Linked DNA regions of Homo sapiens: regions 2 and 3 are each linked to region 1. Evidence: promoter capture Hi-C in human tissues and cell types (Jung and others, 2019). All regions are on one chromosome and are shown on one strand. Each heading gives the region's core, a stretch centred on a gene start or on the middle of the fragment in contact. The rest is flanking DNA. Distances are from core to core; before and after follow the strand shown.

Evidence for each region. Contacts are between HindIII fragments. The study calls those that stand out against the background at their distance.
Region 2: a contact is called between a fragment that was not itself captured here and the fragment with the promoter of NANOS1 in region 1, in 1 of the 25 tissues and cell types used here (dorsolateral prefrontal cortex).
Region 3: a fragment that was not itself captured here is called in contact with the fragment with the promoter of NANOS1 in region 1 in 1 of the 25 tissues and cell types used here (spleen).

What each region holds. Positions count from the first base shown.
Region 1 is chr10:119,027,578-119,031,996 of GRCh38, forward strand. NANOS1 (nanos C2HC-type zinc finger 1) reads left to right here and starts at 2,137. Exons shown (of 1, transcript NM_199461.4): 1 at 2,137-4,419. The coding sequence starts at 2,225. The coding sequence ends at 3,103. LINC03036 (long intergenic non-protein coding RNA 3036) reads right to left here and starts at 1,994. Exons shown (of 4, transcript NR_186540.1): 1 at 1,768-1,994. RefSeq lists an enhancer at 1,414-1,914 and silencers at 1,739-2,208, 2,329-2,538, 2,909-3,208. The HindIII fragment of the contact is 19,263 bases long and covers 1-4,419 here.
Region 2 is chr10:118,562,326-118,566,744 of GRCh38, forward strand. No RefSeq gene overlaps it. Among named protein-coding and RNA genes, the nearest start is that of PRLHR, 31 kb to the right of the region's middle. The HindIII fragment of the contact is 6,270 bases long and covers 1-4,419 here.
Region 3 is chr10:119,487,764-119,492,182 of GRCh38, forward strand. No RefSeq gene overlaps it. Among named protein-coding and RNA genes, the nearest start is that of RGS10, 53 kb to the right of the region's middle. The HindIII fragment of the contact is 4,157 bases long and covers 1-3,879 here.

The sequences.
Region 1 (4,419 bases), core at 887-3,386:
GACAGGAGGATCACTTGAGGCCAGGAGTTCAAGACCAGCCTGGGCAACATAGCGAGACCCCCATCTATTAAAAAAGAAAAGAAAAAGGCAAGAAAAGATCGAACAGAATGATCCCAAAGATCCCTTCCCATGCTGACATTCTGATTCCCTCATTCATTCATTCTAATATTAACCAATGCCAGCACTAGGTTCTGGGCATCCCCTGCTGAGCCATTCTAAACCTGCTGGGCACAGCCAAGACCTGTGAGTGTGGCCTCAGGCCTAGTGAGGGCTCATTGTTTCCACAGCCACTGCATGGTCCAGAGTGAGGAAGGAAAGCCCCATCTGCCCCATGAAGCCCACCCTGCCAGGGCCCACCTGCCAGGGGAGGCATTTTCCTGATCCCAGTTCTAGGTTTCATCCTAGAAGAGCCCTCAGTATCTAAAGCCTTTCCTACTTTCAATTTTTAAAAAAGTTGGGAAGTGTAAGACCACCTGCCATCTTCCTAATCAAAACTCATCTTCTGGCTCTTATTCTCCATGGCTTTTACACAACATGTTTTATTCATTTCAAAGTATTTAATTATAATGTTGAGGCCAGGTGTGGTGGCTCATGTCTGTAATCCCAGCACTTTGGGAGGCCAAGGCAGGAAGATCGCTTGAGGCCAGGTGTTCAAGACCAGCCTAGGCAACATAGTGAGACCCTGTCTCAAGAAAAAAAAAAAAGAAAAAAGAAAAATCAAGAAGAAAAAAGAAAGAGTGAGAAAGAAAGAAAGAGGCCAGACGCGGTGGCTCACGCCTGTAACACCAACACTTTGGGAGGCCAAGGCAGGCGGATCGCGAGGTCTGGAGTTCAAGACAAGCCTGGCCAACATAGTGAAACCCCGTCTCTACTAAAATACAAAAAATTAGCCCGGCATGGTGGCGGGCATCTGTAATCCCAGCTGCTTGGAAGGCTGAGGCAGGAGAATTGCTTGAACCCGGGATGCGGAAAGAAAAGAAAAAAAAAGAAAGAAAAGGAAGGAGGGAAAGAAGGAAGGAAGGAAGGAAGGAAAGAAGGAAGGAAAGAAGGAAGGAAGGAAGGAAGGAAGGAAGGAAGGAAGGAAGGAAGGAAGGAAGGAAGGAAGACAAAATATAACATTGAATACACGTTGTTTTTCAAACTGCACATACAACCCACATTTTGACTCAGGCCTCTGGGGCGAGGGGGTACACACACACACACACATCCCAGTCACTGTCCTAGGCTCTCCAGCCATGAGATTTTCCGGCCCAGCCCCAACCCCGACCTAAGTAACCGGCTATCGGCCACCCATTGGCTGAAGTCCCTGAGCACCTGTTGGGAGGAAGGCTGCTGCGTGCAGCCGGAAAGTCCTGCGTCCCTCCGCTCTTACCGCGGCAGGAACCACAGCCTCCCCGAACCTCAGGGTTTGTATGGATTTCGCCCAGGGGAAAGCGCTCCAACGCGCGGTGCAAACGGAAGCCACTGGCTGGTTGGGCGGCTGTGATGGGAGAGCTGCATCCTTCCAACGCGTCCAGCTTTTCATGCTGATGTTGGTGAGAAGGGGGTGGATAGCGGGGATTCTCAGGATTAGGGCCTAGGGCCATTAAAGGCTGGGAGGTGGGGGCGTAAACCTGTGGCCACCCTGACCCCTGTCCTCGGGGGGCCTCACCACCAGGCCGAGGAGACCCAGGCCTGGTCACCTGCTCCAAGCCCAGGCCCGGCGCTCGAATGCGGGCCCCAGCGGCCCTCCCTTCCCGGCCCTTCTCTCCCCTACTTTCTCCTCACCTCCCAGCTGCGCGGAGAACACGCCCCCTCCCCGTGTTCCCACCAATCAGCGTCCGGAGCGGCGCCCGAGGCGCCGGGGGGCTCTGGTCTGCAGCCAATGAGCGCCACGGCTCGAGGCGGCGCCTCGCCCGCCCCCTCCCGGAATGAAGGCCGCCCGACAGCTGGCGAGGCTGGCGCAGCGCGCGGGGCGCGGGAGCCGCGCGGGCTGGAGCGGAGCGCGCACACAGCCAGCCCGCCTCCGCTCCGCCTCCGTCCGGGGCGCGGGCGAGGTGGCCGGGGCGGGGGAACGCAGGGGGCAGGGCCGCGGCGGCGAGGCCGGGGGGCGGGGAGGAGTGGGCCCGATAAAAGGCGGCGCGGCGGCCCCACCCCGCGGCAGGCCGGCGGGCAGGCTCGGCGTGTCCCTTCCGTCCGGCCCGCGCCGGCGGCGGGGAGGCGGCGCGCGGCCCGCAGCCCGCCCATGGAGGCTTTCCCCTGGGCGCCCCGCTCGCCCCGCCGCGGCCGCGCCCCCCCGCCCATGGCGCTCGTGCCCAGCGCCCGCTACGTGAGCGCCCCGGGCCCGGCGCACCCGCAGCCCTTCAGCTCCTGGAACGACTACCTGGGGCTCGCCACGCTCATCACCAAAGCGGTGGACGGCGAGCCGCGCTTCGGCTGCGCCCGCGGTGGGAACGGCGGCGGCGGCTCCCCGCCCTCCTCCTCCTCGTCGTCCTGCTGCTCCCCCCACACGGGGGCCGGGCCTGGGGCGCTGGGGCCGGCGCTGGGGCCGCCCGACTACGACGAGGACGACGACGACGACAGCGACGAGCCGGGGTCCCGGGGCCGCTACCTGGGGAGCGCGCTGGAATTGCGCGCGCTGGAGCTGTGCGCGGGCCCCGCCGAGGCCGGGCTGCTGGAGGAGCGCTTCGCCGAGCTGAGCCCGTTCGCGGGTCGTGCCGCCGCCGTGCTGCTGGGCTGCGCGCCCGCCGCCGCCGCCGCCGCCACCACCACCAGCGAGGCGACGCCGCGCGAGGAGCGGGCCCCGGCGTGGGCGGCCGAGCCCCGGCTGCACGCGGCCTCCGGGGCGGCGGCCGCCCGGCTGCTGAAGCCCGAGCTGCAGGTGTGCGTGTTCTGCCGGAACAACAAGGAGGCGATGGCGCTCTACACCACCCATATCCTCAAGGGCCCCGACGGGCGAGTGCTGTGTCCCGTGCTGCGCCGCTACACGTGTCCCCTGTGCGGCGCCAGCGGCGACAACGCGCACACCATCAAGTACTGCCCGCTCTCCAAAGTGCCGCCGCCGCCCGCCCGCCCGCCGCCCCGCAGCGCCAGGGACGGCCCGCCTGGCAAGAAGCTGCGCTGAAGGCCCGGGCTCCCGGCCGCCCAGGGTCGCCGCCGCCCCTCGCACCGCTAGGTCTGCGCACCATCTCGCCCCCGCCGTGGGGAGGCGTGCGGCTCAGCGGTCGGCTCGACATGGGACGTCGTCCTGGTGGTTTTTGAAAAGCAGCCGACCGTGTGGAGTACTTCCGTGCTGAACGATTGGGACTAGACGCTGAAATCCCCATTTGTCTTCAGTTTCTAGTTTGCACATCCAGAACGGCGAAGGCTGGGTGTGTATTCCACTAACTGAAATATGGCAACTTAGAGGCGCTGTTTATTTACTGTATACGTCGACCTATTTTAGATGCGCATCAGTATGAAATTGTCTCAATCTTGGATGTTTCATTTTATGAATGGAGGCACTTTACTAGGTCTAGAATATTTTTTTAAAAGCCTCTGAACTGAGCTTAAAACTGGCGATTTTATGAAATGTCGGCAAAATGACTATTTTATTGTTTGAAGCGAGTTAATATTCTCAGTTGTCTTTAAAAATCAGTTACTCTAATTCCAGGTGAAGCAAGCCGCTGGTAGCATCACCCTTATGAGAAGTGAAGGTTTTGTAAACTTTCCAGTATTAATTTGGGCGGGTATTCCCCGCTTGTGGCTTGTTTCTGTCCTAGCTGGAGGTGTAAAATGCACAATGTGTAGCAGGTAGAATACAGCTCCTTATCGTTCTATGTACCAGGTATTTTATTACTGAACTAGCAACTAGCCTTTTCCACCTTTAAAAGTTGTGCCAAGTCATAATCATATTGTGTATAACTTGGAAATGGTGCTGTTTAAAAAAATTGTGTATTTATACAGTAACAGTATGAATTCATTAATCTCACCTGTAACTTTCCTACTTGGCATTTTCTCTACACACTCACCCTCTTCCAGTTCTTTAAAAACGTTTATGATATTAAGATCAAAGGGAGGAAGGGAAGACAGCAGTATTAATTCACCCTAGATTACTCAATTTCAGGGTTCCTAGTGGAGGAAAGCCCATTCCAGCTGTTGCCTGTCAAACAAATAGAAGATGGATCTCTAGCTCTGAGCTATTCGTGTATTAACTCGTATTCAAGAAGGTTCCACCGTGGGCTGCGTCTGACTTTAATACAGGCAGTGCTCAAACTAGAATAAGCACTAATTAAAGGAATTGTTGGGGGTCCTTCATGTGTTCCCACTCCTACTGGAAGACCCATGTCGGTTTCCGGAACCCCACCAGTTTACCCATAAGCAAGACTAAACCTGATCCTTGGGCAAAAGTTCCTAACCCCTACTTTACCCTCCCACCCTCACTTTTAAATCCACCATACT
Region 2 (4,419 bases), core at 977-3,476, 470 kb before region 1:
AAAATAAAGAAAGAAAGAAAAAGAAGGAAAGTTCTTCCTTACAAAGGAGAAACAAAAAATATTGTATTAATAGAAGAAACAATAAAATTAGAAAATCACCATCATGATAACAATTGATTAAAGTCAGAATAACATATGGATCCTTAAACTAGTGGGTGAAATTTTTATTTTTACACATGAATATGTACATAGTCACAAATTACCTCTCCATACGATATTTATTAACGATAAATAGCAAACTAGTAACTTGACAGTAGAGAAACTTAGCAGACACCACCTTAAGTGATCGATGTTAACATCATCAGTTATGAGTCAAATTAAGATCCTGTGCCTCCTGATACAATGTACTGAGAAGAATACAACATCACTTATAATGTACTCCTGCCAAAAGGGCATAACCTGAAACTGACAATGAGGAAACATCAGACACACCCAAAGGAGGGTCATTCTGAAAAATGAACTGCTCTATACTCTTCAAATGTAAACACATGAAATACAAAGCAAGTCTTAGGGTCTATTCCAGTTTAAAGGATACTAAGGAGTCATGGCAACTGAGTACACCACACAATCCTGGGTTTTCTTTGGCTATGAAGACATTTATAATGTATTTATAATTTATAATTGACAATTCGATCTGAATATGACCTTATAACAGAAATAGTCATGTTTGCTGATTTCCTAATTTTGGACATTGTACTATGGCTATGTAAGAGAATGTCCTTGTTTTTAGAAATACAGAAGTATGTAGAAATAAGGAAGTATCACAGCTGCAACTTATACTGAACAGTTCAGCAAAAACAATGTAGAAGTATATATAGAGAGAAAGGGATAAATTTTAAAGACTAAAATTTGGAGCTTGATGAAGAGAATACAGCAATTCTTTGAACTATTCCTGCAACTTTTCTGAAAGTCTGAAATTATGTCAAAATTTAAAAATTAAAATTAAAAGTGTTGGAGTTTTTAAACATGGCTATGAATTCCATAGTAATCCCATTGGAGAGGTAGTCTACATCCCCAACCCTTGAATGCAGATGGGCTTGTGTCTTCTTCCACCTTCGATTGTGGTGAAAGATACTCCATAGAACTTCAAGGCAAGGTCATCAAAGACCATAAGGCTGCCACCTTGTTCCCTAGAGAGCTTGCTGTTGGATCCCTGAGCCACCTTGAGACTACCATACTGGAGAGACCACATGGAGGCTTCCTGCAGTCAAGAGTCCCACCTGATCCTGATGGCCCCCAGCAGCCTCAGGCCTGGCAAGGGAAAGTTGAGTGAAACCACCTTGGAAGTGGATCCTCAGTCCCAGCTGTTCCCACCTCTAGCTTGTCTCATCACTGCCCCCACCCCGCCCCAGCTGTTTGAATCATTCCCGCTGAGGTCCTGGCTGACACTGCAGAACAGAAAACAATGACCCCTCTGTTCCCTTCCAAAGTCTTGGTCCACAAAATCTGTGAGTGTAATAAAATTGTTGCTGCTCTGTGCCACTTGCTTTGGGATGGTTTGTTACATGGTAATAGGTAACTGGAACAAGCACCCCATCTGACTAGGCACTGGGCACTGTGCAGAGTCTCTGGCACTCTTTTCCACAGCCCTGTGGAAACACCATTATTATCCCCATCTTACAGATGAAGAAACTGAGGGCCAAAGTTTTGTAACAACTTGCCCAGGGCCACAGAGCTAGGCAAGTTACAAACCTAAGATTTTTTTCATCGAAGCAAATACTGACACCAGGGCATCCTGCTATATTTCATCTCCCCAAAAGCATTCATTCTCAGCTCAGATAAACCTTATTAGGTCTGGAGACACCATAGTGAGCAATGCAGATGTGGTTTCTGTCTTCATGGTACTTACAGTCTGGTGGGACTGACAGAAACCAAACAAACAGCACCAGCATCATCCAGACATTGGACCTAAGGCCGCTGCAGTCCCTTTTAGAGCAGAATTCCTGGGTTCTGGCAGCCTCTCTTCTTACTCTCCCAGTTAAGGGTCCAGACACACCACAGACCCCTCAGGCGTGGCTGGGCTCTGCCCCAGTGGGTATGGGTCAGATGAACTCATGAGGCTGTTTCTCCAAGAGTCCCCCAAAGAGGGAAAAGGGAGTGTATGAAACGTGGCTATTGTCACCTATAATTCAATCAATAGAAAAAGACAGGTTTCAAATAAATCCTAATGCCTCCCACTACCAAAAACATTTTTTAAAAAGATCTGGTAGGGCCTGAGAATTTGTTTGTCTCTGCTGGTCATGTGTTCTGAGCTCTTACGGCCAGGAGAGGGGCCCTAGCACCCCACCATTCACTTCCCTTTCTGACTTTGGAAGAGTAGCCTCGACCCAGAGATCTAAGAATCCAGCCCCGGTGTGGATGCCAGGACCCCTGCACATCCCCTCCCTACCCTCAGTGCCCCCTCCCCAACTCTCCTAATGGGGCATCTGTGGGAGGTTCGCATTCCAGGCTGCAGCTGCTGCCGCCTGGCAGAGCCCAGGCATCATTTCCATTCCACAGCTTTGGCCTGACATCTGGTGGAGGGACGGGAAGCGGTGCATTTAGTCAAATGACAAGGAGAGTGGCTGCAGCCCTGGGCAGGCAGGGTCTTCCTCCTACGGAAAGTGAGGGTAGCTTCCAGAGTCTCCTGGAAGCTTCCAGGAGTCAGGGGCTTTACCTTCAACCAGTAAGGGCCACCATGTCCTTCCCCTACAGGAGTCCACCAAAGCCTCAGAATGTGGCCATTTGGCAGCTAAGACCTTCCTCAAAGGGGGAAAGGGATCCCCAAGAAAGGTTCCGCAACTCCTCCCAGTCAGGCAGCTGGGAATGGAGGCAGCTGAGGCAATCCTGGGTATCTGACTTCAAAATCGTGGTCTTAAGGACTCTGTCACCTTGGCCCTCAGTGAGTCAACTGAGGTGTGTGGGGGAAGGAGTCTTCATGGGGACACTCAGGGCCGTGGCCATTCAACACCCTCGGATCACAGACATCTGCAGAGCGTGGGACCCAACCTGCCTGATGACAGATATCAAGGGCCCAAGTTCAATACGCACATTCAGGGCCCCGATTGCAGCCTCCGCATTTTAACCCATCCCAGGTGGTCACTGCCTTCAGGTGAACGTGGCTCTGCTGTTTCCTGCCCAGATGCGGTGGCCTAGCCTCATGAAAGGGGTGGAAGGTGGGTGAGGTTACCGATCCCTACTCACTAGGGGCCACTCTCCTCACACTAAAGAGCATACTCCAAGAAGGGGGCGGGGGTGCCCCCCCAGAGCCAGGGCCTGAGATGCAGCTGGAGGCATCCTCCCATCCTGGACATTCTGCAGGTGCCACGCGGTACCTTAAACCTTCTGTGGGTGGCTTCTCTGATCCAACATGGCCAAACCAGAACCCTTGATTTTCACACTGGACCTGCTATTCCTCCAGCTTTTCCATCTAAGTCACTACACCACCATCAACCAGCTACCCAGACCAAAACCACAGGGGACATCATGTTTGTGTTCCCTTTCCCTCCCCATGCCCCACATCCAATCCATTGACTAGTCCTGGCAGCGCTCCCACAAAACACATCCCAAGTTTGCCCCCTCAGTGTGGCACCTACCCCAGTCCCAGCCTTCACCTTTGTCCAATGGGACCTGGCAGAAGCCCCCTAACTCTTCCCCTCCCCTCCCACTTTCTCTCTTGCCCCCATGTCAATTGTCCAAGTGATCTTTTTTATTTTATTTTTATTTTATTTTCGAGACAGGGTCTCACCCTGCTGCTCAGGCTGGAGTGCAGTGGTGTGACCACTGCCCACTGCAGCCTCAACCTCCCAGGCTAAAGCAATCCTCCCCCCTCAGCCACCCAAGTTCCTGGGACCACAGGTGCACCACCATACCTGGCAATTTTTTTTTTGTAGAGATTGGATCTCACCATGTTGTCCAGGCAGGTCTTACACTCTTGGGCTCAAATAATCCTCCTGCCTTGGCCTCCAAAAGTGCTGGGATTATAGGTATAAACCACTATGCCTGGCCCCAGTAGATCCTTTTTTTTTTTTTTTTGAGACAGAGTCTCACTCTGTCACTCAGGCTGGAGTGCAATGGTGTGATCTCAGATCACTGCAACCTCCACCTCCCAGGTTCAGTTCACTGCTCTATCCCCAGGGCTTAGCGTCTGGCACTGGCTCCCAAATATGGAGTTGTTTACATAATTAATGATTCCTCTACTATGACCCAGGCTGTTCCCTGTTGTATTTTGTACAAATGAAACAGCTGACAAAGTGAGACACTGAGAGACTCTAACGCCCAAATGGGAGTGGCACAAGGCGATCGTGGGTGAGAGCAGGCATGTTTCCACACACTCCAGGGAGAAGGCTAGGGCCTGGGGTCCCCTTAATCTGGTCAGGTCTCCGCCAGCTGAAGGAGACCAAGATGCTGGCAGAGATGATGAGGTCACAACCAAGTCTG
Region 3 (4,419 bases), core at 551-3,050, 460 kb after region 1:
TATGATCAGAATGTTTGTGTCCTCACCCCCAAATTCATGTTGAAACTAAAAGCCAAAGCAAAAGTATTAAGAGGTAGGGCCTTTGGGAGGTCATGAGGCTGGAGACTTCGCCAGTGAAATTCGTGCCCTTATCAAAGAGGCCCCAGAAAGCTGCCTCACCCCTTCTACCATGTGAGGACACAGGGAGAAGACGTCCATCTGTGAAGGAAGCTGGTCCTTGCCAGACCCTGAATCTGCCAGCACCCTGGTCATGGACTTCCCAGCTTCCAGACTGTGAGAAATGTCTGTTGCTTCTAAGCCATTCAGTCTAAGGTATTTTGTTACCGCAGCCCAAATAGACAAACACAGTGTTCCTTAAAAACTGCCAGGCACAGCGGCTCACGCCTGTAATCCCAACACTTTGGGAGGCTGAGGTGGGTGGATCACCCGAGGTTAGGAGTTCAAGACCAGCCTGGCCAACATGGTGAAACCCCGCCTCTACTAAAAATACAAAAATTAGCTGGGCGTGGTGGCATGTGCCTGTAGTCCCAGCTACTCAGGAGGCTGAGGCAGGAGAATCGCTTGAAGCTGGGAGGCAGAGGTTGCAGTGAGCCAAGATCACACCATTGCACTTCAACCTGGGTGACAGTGAGACTCTATCTCAAAAAACAAAAACAAACAAACAAAAAAACACTGCATCCCAGGCTGGGTGCAGCAGCTCATGCCTCTAATCCCAGCCCTTTGGGAGGCCGAGGCGGCAGATCACTTGAGGTCAGGAGTTACTTGGGAGGCTGAGGCAGGAGAATCACTTGAACTTGGGAGGCAGAGGTTGCAGTGAGCCGAGATCGGGCCATTGCACTCTAGTCTGGGCGACAGAGTGAGACTCTGTCTCAAAAAAAACAAAAAACAACAACAAAAAAAACTCTGCACCCCAGATGCTAGAAATATTCCATAGCCGAATGCGGTGGTAGTTATGAGTGTGTAGACAAATGGAGACATCCATAGAGCTCTCCACTTAAGATTTGTGTACTTTACTCTTTACTGAAATTAGGTACGTCTTAGTTTTTTTAAAAAAAATTCCTTCCACCAAAAAAAAAAAAAAAAAAAAAAAGAAGAAGAAAAAATGCATCCCAGTGAGCTGGGGAGGAAAGAGTGAAATTGTAGCTGCTTATCTGGGAAGCTTCAGAAATAAAACATTTTGGAACGACCACCCCGAGGTAGAAGACGAGGATTTGGAAATACACTTTTAAAATAAAGTGATGGGAGGCTGGGTGCAGTGCTTCACACCTGTAATCCCATCACTTTGGGAGGCTGAGTCGGGTGGATCACCTGAGGTCAGGAGTTTGAGACCAGCCTAGCCAACAAGATGAAACCCCATCTGTACTAAAAATACAAAAATTAGCCAGGCATGGTGGCATGCGCCTATAATCCCAGCTACTTGGGAGGCTGAGGCATGAGAACCCAGGAGATGGAGGTCGCAGTGAGCCAAGATCATGCCACTGCACTCCAGCCTGGGTGACAGAGCAAGACTCTGTCTCAAAAATAAAAATAAAATAAAGTGGTGGGAAAGAGAGACGTTTAGTATCTCAGCCACACTAAACCTTTAAGCCTCTGTGCACACAGCCAGTCATTTCTTGATCTCTTTGTTAATATAACTTTAGTATCAGGCAGTTTGTTGTACAAAGTCCTGCAGTTCTTCAAGTAATAAACTCACATCAAAACACTGTTTCCGAGCATTAAAAAAATATATAGCATTGATTTAAAAAATGAATGAACTGAACAAAGGTCTCCCACTAATGACCCTCGTGGGATATTTGAGAGGGTTTTGGAGCCAGCAGAGGCCAAACTAGAGAGTGGGGCGGGGTGGGGGCGGGGACGGTAGTCAAAAACGTCAGCGCAAGCCCAGGAAGTACCTCGAAACCTCATCTTCCTGCCCGAAGATGAACTGCCTGAACTGTGCGGGGCAGAAAGGATGGGAGCAGCTGCCCCACCTTCCTGCCCAGTCCCAGCCTCTGGGGAGAGGGTCTCCCCAGGGCACCCTTCTGGGAGAGACAAGGAGAAAAGTTGGTGGGAGGGGACGGTCTGACCAGGATGGGTGCCCAGGGCCTTGGAGGGTCCTCCCGTGCTGCAGGGACCCGCAAGAACCCCGGGAGCTGCCTCCCTCCACAGCTCACCAGCTCCCCCGTGAGCTCAAGCCAGGAATTTCAGGCAGGCTCTCGGGGGTCCCCAGACTTCCTTCTACTCCAAGGAGCCTGGGGAGCCCGGGACCTCCCAGAAAAGCATGTGGGCAGCTCTGCCCTAGGAGACCATGGTTCTTGTCAAGAAAAAGTCACCGAAGTCCAAGAGGCTCCTCCAAAGAATGTCTACTGAATTCCCTTCCCCTTCCTTCGGACACAAAATGTCTGGAGAGGCAACAACCTGGTTCCAGGTTGGAAATGGAGCCATATTACGCTGCTGGGGCACCCACCACTCAGATCTCCCTCTCACTTCTCTGGCTTCCCCCTGCATGTCCCCTTCTGGGCCCAAATCCTCTCCTGAGAGCCCCCCCACCCCTGGTTTCGAGCCTGCAATCATTTGAATGACATTCAGGTCCAGCTGGCTGCCCGTCGATCACGACTCGAACGCGGGGTAACATCGTGTGCATGTGTGTGCGGGGGACTGGGGGGACAGTGAAAGAGTCCCAGGCAAGGATCCAGGAGTCAGACCCGGCCGGGATCTGCTACCCTTCCCTGCGCACCTTAGGCAGACCACACGACCTATCCCTGGTTTGGTGGCCTCATAATAATCACCAAGGTTTATTAAGCCGCTGTGCGCAAGGCACTGTGCTGCGCACATTGCATGTATTATCTCATTGGATTTTATATAGTGCTAGCGTCTGAATGTTTGTGCCGCCCCCGACCCCCGCCCCAAATTCACATGTTGAAACCGAGTCCCCAGTGTGATGATATCAAGAGGCAGGGCCGGCTGGGGCACAGTGGCTCACACCTGTAATCCCAGCACTTTGGGAGGCCAAGGCGGGCGGATCACTTGAGGTCAGGAGTTCGAGACCACCCTGGCCAACATGGCAAAACCTCCTCTCTACCAAAAATACAAAAATTAGCCAGGCGTGGTGGCGCATGCCTGTAATCCCAGCTACTCAGGAGGCTGAGGCAGGAGAATCGCTTGAACCCAGGAGGCAGAGGTTGCAGTGAGCCCATATCATGCCACTGCACTCCAGCTTGGGTGACAGAGCGAGACTCCATCTCAAAAAAAAAAAGAGGCAGGGCCTTTCGCGGGTGATTAGGTCATGAAGGCTCTGGGTCGGCACCTGAATGAATGGGAATCAGTGCTCAGAGACCCTAGGGAACTTGCTTGCCCTTTCCAGCTGAGCATGTGCCCAGCATGTGAGGACATAAAAGGCACCATGGATGAGAAACAGGCTCTCACCAAACACCTCATCTGTCAGTGTCTTTAATCTTGGGCTTCCCAGCCTCCAGAACTGTGAGCAATAAATATCTGTTGTTTTTGAGTTACCCAGGTATTTTGTTATAGCAGATGAAACAGACTAAGGCATAGGGACCAATATTATCCCATCTAATAATTGAGAAAACTTGGGCTTGAAAAGATCCATGATGGCTTACGCAAGCTCACAGGGCTAATAAGCGACGGAGCTGGGATAGAATTTAGGCAGTTGAACTTCATGACATGAACATAACCACAATTCTCATGCTAACCAATAGTAAAATAATAATAATAAACAAATAATGAGGCTAGGCGCAGTGGCTCGTGTCTGTAATCCCAGCACTTTGGGAGGCTGAGGTGGGTGGATCACTTGAAGTCAGGAGTTTGAGACCAGCCTGGCCAACATGGTGAAACGCCATCTCTTCGAATGCTACAAAAATTGGCCGGGCGTGGTGGCGCACACCTGTAATCCCAGCTACTCGGGAGGCTGAGGCAGGAGAATTGCTTGAACCCAGAAGCAGAGGTTGCAGTGAGCGAAGAGTGCACTGCTGCCCTCCAGTCTGGGTGACAGAGCATGACTCCATCTCAAAAATAATAATAATGATGATGATAGTTGACAGAGGTTCTTTTAGTGCTAAGGTTCTGGGGAAACCTGCAAATTTAGTAAAGGTGGACCCACATTTTCATGTTTTCAGGTCATGATGAGTGACCTCGCTCCTTTAGGAAAAAAGAGAGAAATATTCCCTTTGGGAGGCACAGGGACAGCCTCCTGGGAGATCAGAGTCTCGCCTCTGCCTCTGCAATCAGCCAGGATCTGTAGACACAGATATTTATGAGGCAGTCTGCGGTGCTCTATTTCTTCCCCCATTCTTATGGGGGTGAGAGGGGCAGAAGGAGACCAAAAGCCACATACTTGCAAAGTCATCCTTCCTCTGGAGACCAAGAAGCAGCAGATTCTTTTCCTGGGAAACAAGTCTATCAGGCAGACATCTGTTACTC